Regions from separate parts of the Homo sapiens genome. Here regions 1, 2 and 4 are each linked to region 3. Evidence: promoter capture Hi-C in 16 types of primary human blood cells and fetal thymus (Javierre and others, 2016). All regions are on one chromosome and are shown on one strand. The core of a region is centred on a gene start or on the middle of the fragment in contact, and the rest is flanking DNA. Distances in the headings are between cores, read along the strand shown. Region 1 overlaps ZNF329 (zinc finger protein 329). Region 2 holds the start of ZNF256 (zinc finger protein 256). Region 3 holds the start of ZNF749 (zinc finger protein 749). Region 4 has its middle 9.1 kb from the start of ZSCAN18.

The links. The method cuts DNA at HindIII sites, captures the fragments that hold promoters and counts their contacts. A CHiCAGO score of 5 or more calls a contact.
Region 1: a fragment that was not itself captured here is called in contact with the fragment with the promoter of ZNF749 in region 3 in 4 of 17 cell types (total CD8 T cells, non-activated CD4 T cells, naive CD4 T cells and 1 more); the score reaches 9.9 in total CD8 T cells.
Region 2: the fragment with the promoter of ZNF256 here is called in contact with the fragment with the promoter of ZNF749 in region 3 in 6 of 17 cell types (naive B cells, naive CD8 T cells, naive CD4 T cells and 3 more); the score reaches 8.0 in naive B cells.
Region 4: a contact is called between a fragment that was not itself captured here and the fragment with the promoter of ZNF749 in region 3, in 1 of 17 cell types (non-activated CD4 T cells). The highest score is 5.7, in non-activated CD4 T cells.

The regions. Positions count from the first base shown.
Region 1 is chr19:58,127,638-58,130,415 of GRCh38, forward strand. It overlaps ZNF329 (zinc finger protein 329), which reads right to left. Exons shown (of 4, transcript NM_024620.4): 4 at 1-1,874. The coding sequence starts at 1,866. The coding sequence ends at 241. Among named protein-coding and RNA genes, the nearest start is that of ZNF329, 22 kb to the right of the region's middle. The HindIII fragment of the contact is 846 bases long and covers 1,066-1,911 here.
Region 2 is chr19:57,946,136-57,948,966 of GRCh38, forward strand. ZNF256 (zinc finger protein 256) reads right to left here and starts at 1,571. Exons shown (of 3, transcript NM_005773.3): 1 at 1,307-1,571. The coding sequence starts at 1,339. RefSeq lists enhancers at 980-1,059, 1,550-1,649, 1,720-1,809. The HindIII fragment of the contact is 12,388 bases long and covers 1-2,831 here.
Region 3 is chr19:57,433,917-57,436,823 of GRCh38, forward strand. It overlaps ZNF749 (zinc finger protein 749), which reads left to right and starts at 1,409. Exons shown (of 3, transcript NM_001023561.4): 1 at 1,409-1,677. The coding sequence starts at 1,663. RefSeq lists enhancers at 994-1,293, 1,924-1,973. The HindIII fragment of the contact is 4,352 bases long and covers 1-2,907 here.
Region 4 is chr19:58,105,987-58,108,760 of GRCh38, forward strand. It overlaps a transcript of ZSCAN18 not described here. Among named protein-coding and RNA genes, the nearest start is that of ZSCAN18, 9.1 kb to the left of the region's middle. The HindIII fragment of the contact is 4,764 bases long and covers 1-2,774 here.

The DNA.
Region 1 (2,778 bases), core at 239-2,738, 690 kb after region 3:
TTGTCATGTCTGGTACAGACTGAATCATCCCCAAAGACTTTTCTGCCCTCATCCTAAGTTGTCTCTGGAGTTCCCCAATGAGCAGACTTAACAGTGTGGCTCAGCAATGTCTCACATTCATCAATTCACTGGATAGCTTAAAGGATTCTTTTCTACTGACCAGAGAGGAGTCAGATCTAAGACACGCCTCCTAAACACAGGAGTGAGAGTGAACTGGAAGACTCATGTGGCCCCCAACCATTATGTTTCCATGGGTTGCTCTCCCAGGTGTGCTCTTTGATGTCGAACAAGGGATGAGCTCTTTTGGAACATTTTTCCACACTGAGGACACCGGCTGGGACCCTCCCTGCTATGGAGTCTCTGATGTACTGCCAGGTGAGAGTTCTGCTTGAAGGACTTCCCACATTCTGGACACTGATATGGGGTCTCCTTAGTGTGAATTCTCTGGTGCTTGGTCAGACAGGAGCTGTCCCTGAAGGCTTTGCCACACTGATTACACTCATAGGGCTTCTCACCAGTATGAGTCCTCTGGTGCCTAATGAGGCCAGCGATATTCCTGAAAAGTTTCTGACACTGGTTGCAGCCATAGGGCTTCTCGCCAGTATGAATCCTCTGATGCCTGATGAGGTACGCACTCTCGATGAAAGTCTTGCCACATTCTTTACATTCATAGGGTTTCTCCCCAGAATGGATCTTTTGATGCACAATGAGGTGAGAGTTTCTGTTGAAGGATTTCCCGCACTCTGCACACTCAAAGGGCTTTTCTCCAGTGTGAGTCCTCTCATGCTGGGTGAGGTACGAGCCGTCCCGGAAAGCCTTTCCACATTTGCTACACTCATAGGGCTTCTCACCGGTGTGGATTCTGAGATGCACTGTAAGGTGGGAGATGTCAGTGAAGGGTTTCCCACATTCGTTACATCTATATGGTTTTTCCCCTGTATGAGTTCTTTGGTGCAAAATTAAGGATGAATTTCGGTTGAAGGTTTTTCCACACTCTAGGCATTCATAAGGTTTCTCGCCTGTGTGAATTCTCTGGTGCTGTGTCAGAGCTGAGCCATCACTGAAAGCTTTCCCACATTTACTGCATTCATAGGGCTTCTCTCCTGTGTGGATTCTTTGATGCACAATCAGGTTGTAGTTCTTGGAGAAGGACTTTCCACACTCATTACAAGTATAAGGCTTCTCTCCGGTGTGAGTTCGGTGATGCAAAACAAGAGAAGAGTTCCGTTTGAAGCATTTGCCACATTCAGTACATCTATATTGTTTCTCTCCAGGGAGATTTCTCTGGTTTTCATTAAGCGATGAGCTCAGAGTAAAGATGTTCTCAAAATTCTTACCTTCATACGATTTCTTGCCTCTTTTCATTATTTTCTGATGACCAAGAGAGGTAAAATGATTAAAAGACTTAACACTTTCAGGGTATTTGTAGGGCTTCTCTCTCACTGGATTTCTTCCATGAATAACTTCCATGGAATGGTTGAAGCCTTTTCCACAGGCATCACTGTCACCAGTTCTCTTATCTGCATAACTTTTAGGATAGCTGGGTAAGGCGGGGTCACAATCCAGACCACTAACATTTGAGTCAGGTGCATGGAAACCATTTGTTGCCAGAACTCTCTGAGACGGTGGAAGGTCTGAGCTTGCAATCAAATGCTCCCCAAAACCAGGATATTCACAAATTGCTTCCTGAGTCCCTGGTTTCTCCAGAGTTAAAGCTGATTGCCTCAAGTGTCCCTCCTGGTTCTCACAGTCCCAACCATCACCTAAACTGGACAAGCAGGGAACTTCCCTTGTGAATCTTTCCACTTCTACATCACAGGGTACTTCTCTCTCAGGAAAATTCCGAGTCGTCATTTTCAATCTCATATCCCAAACTGCAAAAAGAAGAAAAATGCAGACTTAGGTATATGAAGCTTTATCTGTAAGAGAAACAGACAATGATGATGGGCTAGGTGTAAAGATGTGTATTTTTTTACTTGTTTTCTCTTTTAAATTCAAATTTATACAAGGAAGAGGTAAAATCGTAGCCAAGGAATGGAACCAAGAACAGATTCAAAAAGAGCCATGTAGCATTTTCATCTTCCTAGAGAGCAGGCAGGAGGAATGGACCTCGGGATAAATCATCACCAAAAGGATTAGTTTGAGATGTGAGAGACCAGAGGCCAAGCATCCCTGCTCCCCCTAGAATTCCATCCCAGCCACTGCATTCTTGTCCCTGTCACACACTGCCCATCAGTACACATTTCCAAAGCTCTGACTTCACAATGAGCTTACAACAGCACTGAAGGAACAGTTCTCACCCCAGCTCTGTCATCAAAGTTCTGCATTCATGGATAGGACAAAGCACAGGCTTGGTGACCTAAAAGTTCTGGGTCTAAGTCTTAGAACTGTCAATGACCTGGCGGGGCACAGTGGTTCACTCCTGTAATCCCAGCACTTTGGGAAGTGGAGGCAGGTGGATCATTTGAAGTCAGGAGTTCAAGACCAGCCTGACCAACATGGTGAAACACCGTCTCTACTAAAAATACAAAAAAAATCAGCCAGGCGTGGTGGCACATGCCTGTAGTCCCAGCTACTCTGGAGGCTGAGGCAGGAGAATCACTTCAACCTGGTAGGCAGAGGTTGCAGTGAGCTGAGATCACACCACTGCACTCCAGCCTACGCGGCAGAGTGAGACTCCATCTCAAAAAACAAAACAAAACAAAAACTGTCAAAGACTGCCCTGCATGGTTGTTATAAAAACTGGATCATGTCGGCCAGGCGCGGTGGTCACGCCTG
Region 2 (2,831 bases), core at 321-2,820, 510 kb after region 3:
TCCTCCCAGTCTTGGCCCACTAACAGCTTTACAACCAAAACCTGGAGCTTGCCCCGCCTAACTGTGACCCACAGCTCACTAACCTTGGTGCGCACAACAGCCACATCTTGAATATCTGCACCCTGAACCACTCCCTAGATTTCAAGACCGGCACGTTCATCTGCCCACTTAACGCCTCCATTTAGTAGGCTCTGAAAGATCTGACTCTTAGCATGGCATAAACAAACCTGATATCCCTAGTGAATATTACTCCTATTGCCAATTTGTTCATCTTAGTTGATGAAACTTCTTTCCCTACAGCTGCTAATACCAAAAACCCTGGAGTCTTCTCTGAACCCTCTGTTTCACTCCCTCACCACCTACATTATGTAATTTAGTTGTCCCTTTTGAAACCACACATCCGGAATCTAACCACATCTCCTAAATCACGATCCTGGGCCAGTAACCCTCACTTGGACTAGTCTACCCTGATTTTCCTTCCTCCTCCCTCAACCCCCCAGTTTGTGCCCCACTGTGCACACAGATGAAGCCTGTGAAGACCTTGGTAAATTACCTCTTTTTTCTGATTCAAACTTGCTATTACCTCCTGAAAACACACTCAACTTCTCAGGCAGCCACTGCAGTCCTGACGCCTATCCTCCTGTTCTTTGCTTCCCACCAGAAAGCAAGGAGACTTGTGGCTTCATAAATGCACCCAGCTCCGTACTGCACCTAAGCATTTGCACATCTTGTACCTTTCTGGAAAAACTTTCCACACCCGTTCACATGGCTGCCAGAAATTGGAACAACTCTATATACCGGCTAACATGGACATAGGACCCTGGGCTTGGGGTTCACCCAAGGTCTTCAGAACTAAGGGCTGGGGGAATGGCACTCCACAACCCAGAGAACCTGTGGGTGGGAGTTAGGGCTAGTGAGAGACTGGGAAACCCTCCCCTTCCTGGCGTAGATTTCATAACCCTTTACAGCCAAGGGAAACGTAGAAAGAGCCAGGCCTCAGAGAAGAGCATCTATGGCGGTATTAGATGGGCTCAAGCCACCCCGTAGCCCCATGCCTGGCCTTGGAGCCGGGTGCCCTCGCAATGGCTGTGTCACCTCTGTGCCCCAGGGCTCAGTGGCGCCTCTCATCAGGGGCTCCTTGCCAGTCGCGCCCTCCCTTCCCTAGCACACCAGGTGTTGGAAACGGGAGCCCCTCCGGCGAGCCCCCGTGTCCTGTCCTGGGCAGCAGGGCCGCGAGCAAGCGCCCTCGGGGGTGCTAGGACTAGCGTGGGGAGGGCGGGGAAGGCCCAGAGGACGCGGCACATACCTGGGCCGGGGCCGTCAGCTCGGCCGCCGCCATCTGACTCTGTGAGCGGAGCGGGGCCAGAGAGGATGTCCTTATTCCGGGCCGGGCCTGGGTACCCTGGGCGCCGCCGAGCCTCAGCCACGCCTCTGTGCAGCGGGGAAGACTCCTCTCGCGCCTTCTCAGTCAGTCACGGATGATGCTGACCCAGCGCTCCGGGGCTTTCTACCAAGTAATCAGTCCAGACAAATGCCAAAACGACCGCCACAAGGAGGACAACGGAAGTCCCGCCGCGACCGCGCGTGCGCTTACGGAAACACCACCTTTCGGAGGCCTCATTGGCTGAAGGTCGCCGTCGCCCAACGCAGGCCATTCTGGGTAATGTTCCCACAGGCGCACGGCGGGAGAGTGAGGGTCGCCTCCACCTCCTTCCGGAAGTAAAGGCCAAACCCCTGTAGGGGGCGCTGGGAAATGGACACTCCAGGTTGGGGCGGAGGCGAGGCTTCGTTCTTTCTTAAAGGAGACGTACCCAGGTTTCTACCGATTGCTGTCTGCCAGTGTTTGTTTGGAGACGTGTCATTTCATGTGTTCCCAGAGGCACATATCCAGATGCACATATTATTACATACAGTCAGTCAGTCACAAAATATATCCACTGGTTGAGAAAGCAAATAAATATGACTATGTTGCGGCCGGGCGCGGTGGCTCACGCCTGTAATTCCAGCACTTTGGGAGGTCGAGGCGGGCGGATCACGAGGTCAGGAGATCGAGACCATCCTGGCTAACTCAGCGAAACCCCGTCTCTAAAATACAAAAAATACCACAAAAAAAAAAAAAAAAAGAAAAATTAGCTGGGTGTGGTGGCGGGCGCCTGTAGTCCCCAGCTACTCCGGAGGCTGAGGCAGGAAAATAGCTTGAACCCGGGAGGCAGAGCTTGCAGTGAGCCGAGATCGCGCCACTGCACTCCAGCCTGGGGGAAAGAGCGAGCCACTGTCTCAAAAAAAAAAAAAAAAAAAAAAAAAAAAAAAGACTATGTTGCAATTCAAACGCATGCACTCAAGCACTGGAGTCAGTTTTCTCAGTCTCTGTATGTTTGATTAGGGACAAGAAAAAAAACACTCCACACAGGTTCATGACAAAGAGGATGAAGGTGGGATGCGGAGGCACCCTGCAGCAGCAGGACATAAGTAGATCCCTGTCTCTGGGTCCCTCTCGTGCCTGTGTAGTCAAACATTGTGTCCAATTCACTAAGCAACACTTGCATGAATCTAATCTCACTTTCTCCATGCCTTTATATTCACTTCTTTTTAATAATTTGACATCAAGCTCAGAAAGAGAACAACAAAAGGAATGGTATTTTGAAAAGGCATGATGGCTAGCTAGAGCATTAACAGGTGGAACAAAGGGTGCTCTGAATCCCAAATGTAGGGTGTATCTTAAATTCAAGATCTCTTCTCAACGCTGAAATGATTATCTTTGCCCCCATTAGTTACGCTCTTGTTGCCCAGGCTGGAGTGCAATGGTGCGATCTCGGCTCACCACAACCTCT
Region 3 (2,907 bases), core at 159-2,658:
TAGTGCATTGTAAAAAGCTGAATAAAGCCAGGGACGGTGTCCTGTACCTACAGTCCCAGCTGCTCTAGAGGCTGAGGTGGGAAGATAGCTTTAGCTCAGGAGCTGAGGCCTTATCATAAGGCCTTATAAGACTACCTGGAGGCTTCATCTGCATGATATAACCTTGGTCTTCACAACCCCTTGTCTTTTTTTGTTTTTGAGACGGAGTTTCGCTCTTGTTGCACGGGCTGGAGTACAATGGCGAGATCTCGGCTCACCGTAACCTCCGCCTCCCGGGTTCAAGCGATTCTCCTGCCTCAGCCTCCCGAGTAGCTGGCATTACAGGCATGTGCCACCATGCCCGTCTAATTTTGTATTTTTAGTAGAGATGGGGTTTCTACATGTTGGTCAGGCTGGTCTCGAACTCCCAACCTCAGGTGATCCGCCCACCTCGGCCTCCCAAAGTGCTGGGATTACAGGCGTGAGATACCACGCCCGGCCCACAACCCCTTAACCCAGACAACCATTTCTACTGATTCCAGGTCTTTAGATACAAACTCTTTCAACCAATTGCCAATCGGAAAATCTTTGAACCCACCTGACCTGGAAGCCCCGCCCCTCCCTTCCAGTTGCGCCTTTCCAGAGGAATCCAATGTACATTTTACATGTATTGATTGATGTCTTACGTCTTCCTAAATTGTTAAAACCAAGCTGTAGATGGGCCACCCTGGGCATATGTTCTTAGGATATCTTGGAGCCGTGTCATGGGCCATTAGTCACTCATATTTGTCTCAGAATAAATCTCTTCAACTATTTCACAAAGTTCCACCCTTTTCGTCGACAGAAAGATATTCCTCCTTCAACTCTCCATCACATCCTGTGTGGGTCTTTTCTTTCTTGTCCCAACAGAAGCACACTAACGATCAAAAAAAAGTCTCCAGAGCCTCAGTATGTGTGTACTTGACAAGCACAAAAGAGCTGACCGCTATGAATGGAGGACCAGTTCATTATGGTCAGCCATGTCGCTTCTGATGTTCTTCCTTTCGGGACTTGCTGTGCTTCAGAGAATCTGAAACGACAGGTCTCTGAAATATTTCTCAGACTTGTCCTAGACTGCTCTCCGGGAAAATCTGGTTACTTGCAGTTTAGGAGTCAGCAAAGCCCCTCCACGTCCTTAAGAGCCCCGGAACTGCATTTCTTAACGCTCCTCCAGGAGCCTCCAGCTTTTTTCCGTAAGGTCCGCGCGCCCAGCATTGTGAGGCGAGGCAGGCAGCAGCGTGGGAACTACATTACCCAGAAGACACTGCGGGCGACACAGGCAGCAACGTGAGAACTACATTACCCAGAAGACACTGCGGGGGCAGGGCAGCGAGTGTAGCCATTGGTCTAGCAGAGAGACGACTAATGAGGTCTCAATTGTGTGGGCGGGACTTCTGGCGGCGCCCTCATGGTTGCGTTAGCATGGCTACCTAGGGATCTGTTCACTGATTTAGAGGGTCCCAGAGCTCTGGGTCGGGACTGAGGTGAAAGAGCGGAAAAACGCGAGAAGCGGTGTTCCTTCTACACAGAGGCTAGAGTGCGGATCGGCTGAGTCGGCTGCAGGCGCCCCTGCCTCCGTCAGCGTCCAGGTGACCGCCGTTCCCGCCCCGCTCTTCCCTGGGTGGACTGGAGGAGGCCGCGCCGATGAACCTGACCGAGGTGCGTGCAGCGTCCCAGGCCGCCCCGCCCAACCCCTCCTCCCAGTGCTGAAGTCCCAAGGAGCCGCCCTGCAGGTTAGGCCCTTGTGTCTCTAAGAGAGGGGCGTTCTTGTGTGGGGTGCCCGGGACTGGGACTGCGGTGCGATGAGGCGGGGGAGCTCCCGTCGGAGACCGACACGTCTCTGGGGCTTGGAGGCACTGCAGAACGGGCGGCACTGGGGAGCCCGAGCGTCTTTGTCTCCAAGGAGCAGAGGTTGAGGCGGAGTCTCCCCTGGAAGGGCAGTGGAGCCGCAGAGAGCCATAGAGGGCTGTGCAGGGAGGACGAATGGGAGGGTCACGCCCAGAGTTAGAAGTTTAAAGTTGGGGAAAACAGGATGTTGAACGGGGGCAGGGGGACCGCTGAGGAGACCCCTTGAGTTATGGTAGGGCTGGGCCAGAGGGGTTGCAGTAGAGGGGAGATGTGATGAGACTCTGGATGGATCTCAGAGATAGGGTCAACAGGATTTCCTGCTGCATCAAACATAGCTGTGAGGGAAAGTCGGTAGTGAATGGTGTCTTCCATAGGTTTTGTTTTGGCCTGAAAAATCTGAAAGAATGGAATTAGAGATATCAGCTTAAGGAGCGGGTTTCAGACAGAAGATCCTGGGTTGGATTTTGGGCGACATCACATGGGTAGGTGGACGTAATTTCCAAAGGTGAGGGAAGGTAGCTGGCCTGGAGCTTTAAATGAGTTAGAAGTTGTGCACTTGAGAAGTTGGCCTGTGGATCAGATTGAGAAGGAAGAATCCTACATCGTTTTTTCATATGGGCTGAGGTAGGGGAGGGCTCAGATTTGGAGGAAAGACCATGGTAGGGAGGGCATCTCTGATACTCCCTGCAGAAGGGAGCAGATATGGGCTAAGAGTCTGGTCTGTTTCTGTTGAAAAAGAGGCCTGGATGGATAAGGAGTTGCCCTGGAATACAGAGACTGAGGCATGAGATAATTGTAGTCACTCCACCCTTCTAACTCAGCTGGCCCTGAGGGCCACTCTTTAGGGAACAAGATAAGGCCATGCAGCAACTGGGTCCAAAACTGGGCAGGGCTTTCTCACATCCTCCACCACAGTTAAGGGCCTCCAGCAAGCTCCCTTTACTGCATTATATGGCAGGCTGACCTGTTTGCTGAACGGACCAGTAACTGATTGACTGCTCAGCCCCATCCTACAACTCATTAACTTAGGGATGTAAAAAC
Region 4 (2,774 bases), core at 136-2,635, 670 kb after region 3:
AAAAAAAAGGTATGTATTTTGTAAGGCTATAGCTGCCATAGATAGTAATGATTCCTTGGATGGATCCAGGGAAAGTAAATTAAAAACCTTCTGGAAATGATTCACTATGCTAGATGCCATTAAGAGCATTCTAGGCCAGGCACAATGGCTCACACCTGTAATACTAGCACTTTGTCAGGATGAGGCAAGAGGATCACTTCGGCACAGGAGTTCAAGACCAGCTTGAGCAATATGGTGAGATGCCGTCTCTACAAAACATAAAAAAAATTAGCCAGGCGTGGTGGTGCATGCTGGTAGTTCCAGCTATGTAGGAGGCTAAGGTGAGAGGACAACTTGAGCCTAGAGGTCGAGGCTGCAGCGAGCCATGGTTGCAGCACTGCACTCCAACCTGGGCAACAGAATGAGACCATGTCTCAAAAGAAAAAAAGACATCTGGCTGGGCGCGGTGGCTCACGCCTGTAATCCCAGCACTTTGGGAGGCCGAGGCGGGCGGATCACGAGGTCAGGAGATCGAGACCATCCCGGCTAAAACGGTGAAACCCCGTCTCTACTAAAAATACAAAAAAAATTAGCCGGGCGTAGTGGCGGGCGCCTGTAGTCCCAGCTACTTGGGAGGCTGAGGCAGGAGAATGGCGTGAACCCGGGAGGCGGAGCTTGCAGTGAGCCGAGATCCCGCCACTGCACTCCAGCCTGGGCGACAGAGCGAGACTCCGTCTCAAAAAAAAAAAAAAAAAAAAAAAAAGAAAGAAAGAAAAAAAGACATCTGTTTTTTTTGTTTTTTTGTTTTTTTTTGAAATGGAGCCTCCTTCTGTTTCCCAGGCTGCAGTGCAGTGGCTCGATCTCTGCTCACTGCAACCTCTGCCTCCCAGCTTCAGGCAATTCTCCTGCCTCAGTCTCCTGAGTAGCTGGGATTACAGGTGTGCACCATCACGCCTGGCTAATTTTTTTTTGTATTTTTAGTAGAGATGAGGTTTCAGCATGTTGGTCAGGCTTGTCTCGAAATCCTGACCTCGTGATCTGCCCACCTTGGCCTCCCAAAGTGCTGGGATTACAGGCGTGAGCCACCGTGCCTGGCCAAGACATCTGTTCTTGAATAATGAGACTGGAAAGTCAAAATTACTCCTGATCTATGATGGGCTGCAGAATACATGTTGTGTTAGCAGGTGTGAGAACAACATTCATCTCCCTGTACATCTTCATCACAGCTCTTGTCAACAAGCAGCCATATTTTGAAAGGAATCTTTATTCTGAGGAAGTCTCAACAGTGGGTTTAAAATATTCAGCACAGGCCGGGCATGGTGGCTCATGCCTGTAATCTCATCACTTTTGGGAGGCCAAGGTGGGCAGATCACTTCAGGTCAGGAGTTCAAGACCAGCCTGACCAACATGGTGAAACCCTATCTCTACTAAAAAAAATACAAAACAATTAGTGTGATGGTGGGTACCTGTAATCCCAGCTACTTGCTCAGGAGTTTGAGGAAGGAGAATCGCTTGAACCCAAGAGGCAGAGGCTGCAGGGAGCTGAGATCACACTACTGCACTGCAGCCTGGGTGACAAGAGTGAAACTCTGTCTCAAAAATAAAATAAAATATTGAGTGCACCATGCGGTAAACACATGTGCTGTCATCCAGGATTTTTTCTTCCATTTATAGATGGAAAAACATATTTGTTACTTTCAAACAACATAAACTCTTCAACATGAAGTCTCTGACAAAGAGGAGGCAAAGAAAATCAGATCAGTCACTGCCACAGATGCTCACTGAATCCCCATAGGTCTCAGTCCAATGTGTCAACTCTGGTTTCTAGCGAGAGCACAGATACTTGGGAAAACTTTCCCACACTAGACACACTGGCACAAGGTCGCCTGAGCATGTACCTTCTTGTGCTTGGTCAGACAGGAGCTGTCCCTGAAGGCTTTGCCACACCGATTACACTCGTAGGGCTTCTCACCAGTATGAGTCCTCTGGTGCCAGATGAGGCCCGCGATGTTCCTGAAAAGTTTGACACTGGTTACAGCCACAGACCTTCTCACCAGTATGAATCCTCTTGTGCCTGATGAGGTACATAATCTCAGTGAAAGATTTTTTCACATTGTTTAACTCATGAGATTTCTTTCCAGAATGATTTTTTTGATGCAAAAGAGCTGACTGTTGTGGTTGGAGAATTTTTCACACTCCATACACATATAGGGTCTCTTTCCAATGTGAATTCTCCCATGTTTAATAAGTTATGTGTGATCAATGAAGGCCTTTCTACACCCAGTACATACATAGGGCTCCCCTCACATGTGAATTCTCAGATGGACAATAAGGTTGGAGACATCAGAAAAGGATTTTTCACATTCATTACATTCGAATAGTTTTTCCACAGTATGACTTCTGAAATGCAAAACAAGGGAAGAGTGGCAGCTGAAGGTCTTCCCATACCAATTCCTTTCACAGGGCTTCTTTCCTATGTGGGTTTTCTCATGCTTGGTAAAGGTGGAGCCAGCACTGAAGGCTTTCCCACTTCTTGCATTTATAGGATTTCTCTCCTGTGTGGATTTTTTGATGTACAATCAGGTTGTAATTCTTAGAGAGGGATTTTCCACAGTCATTACAGGTATAAGGGCTCTCTCCAGTATGAGTCCTCTGGTGACTGATGAAATGAGATTTCGGTCTAACGGACAGTCCACATTCACTGTCATTGTATTCATTTCCAGAGATACTTCCATTGTGTTCATAAGGACATGTGTCCCTATCAAACACCTCCTCGTGTCCTTCTCCTTTGTGTT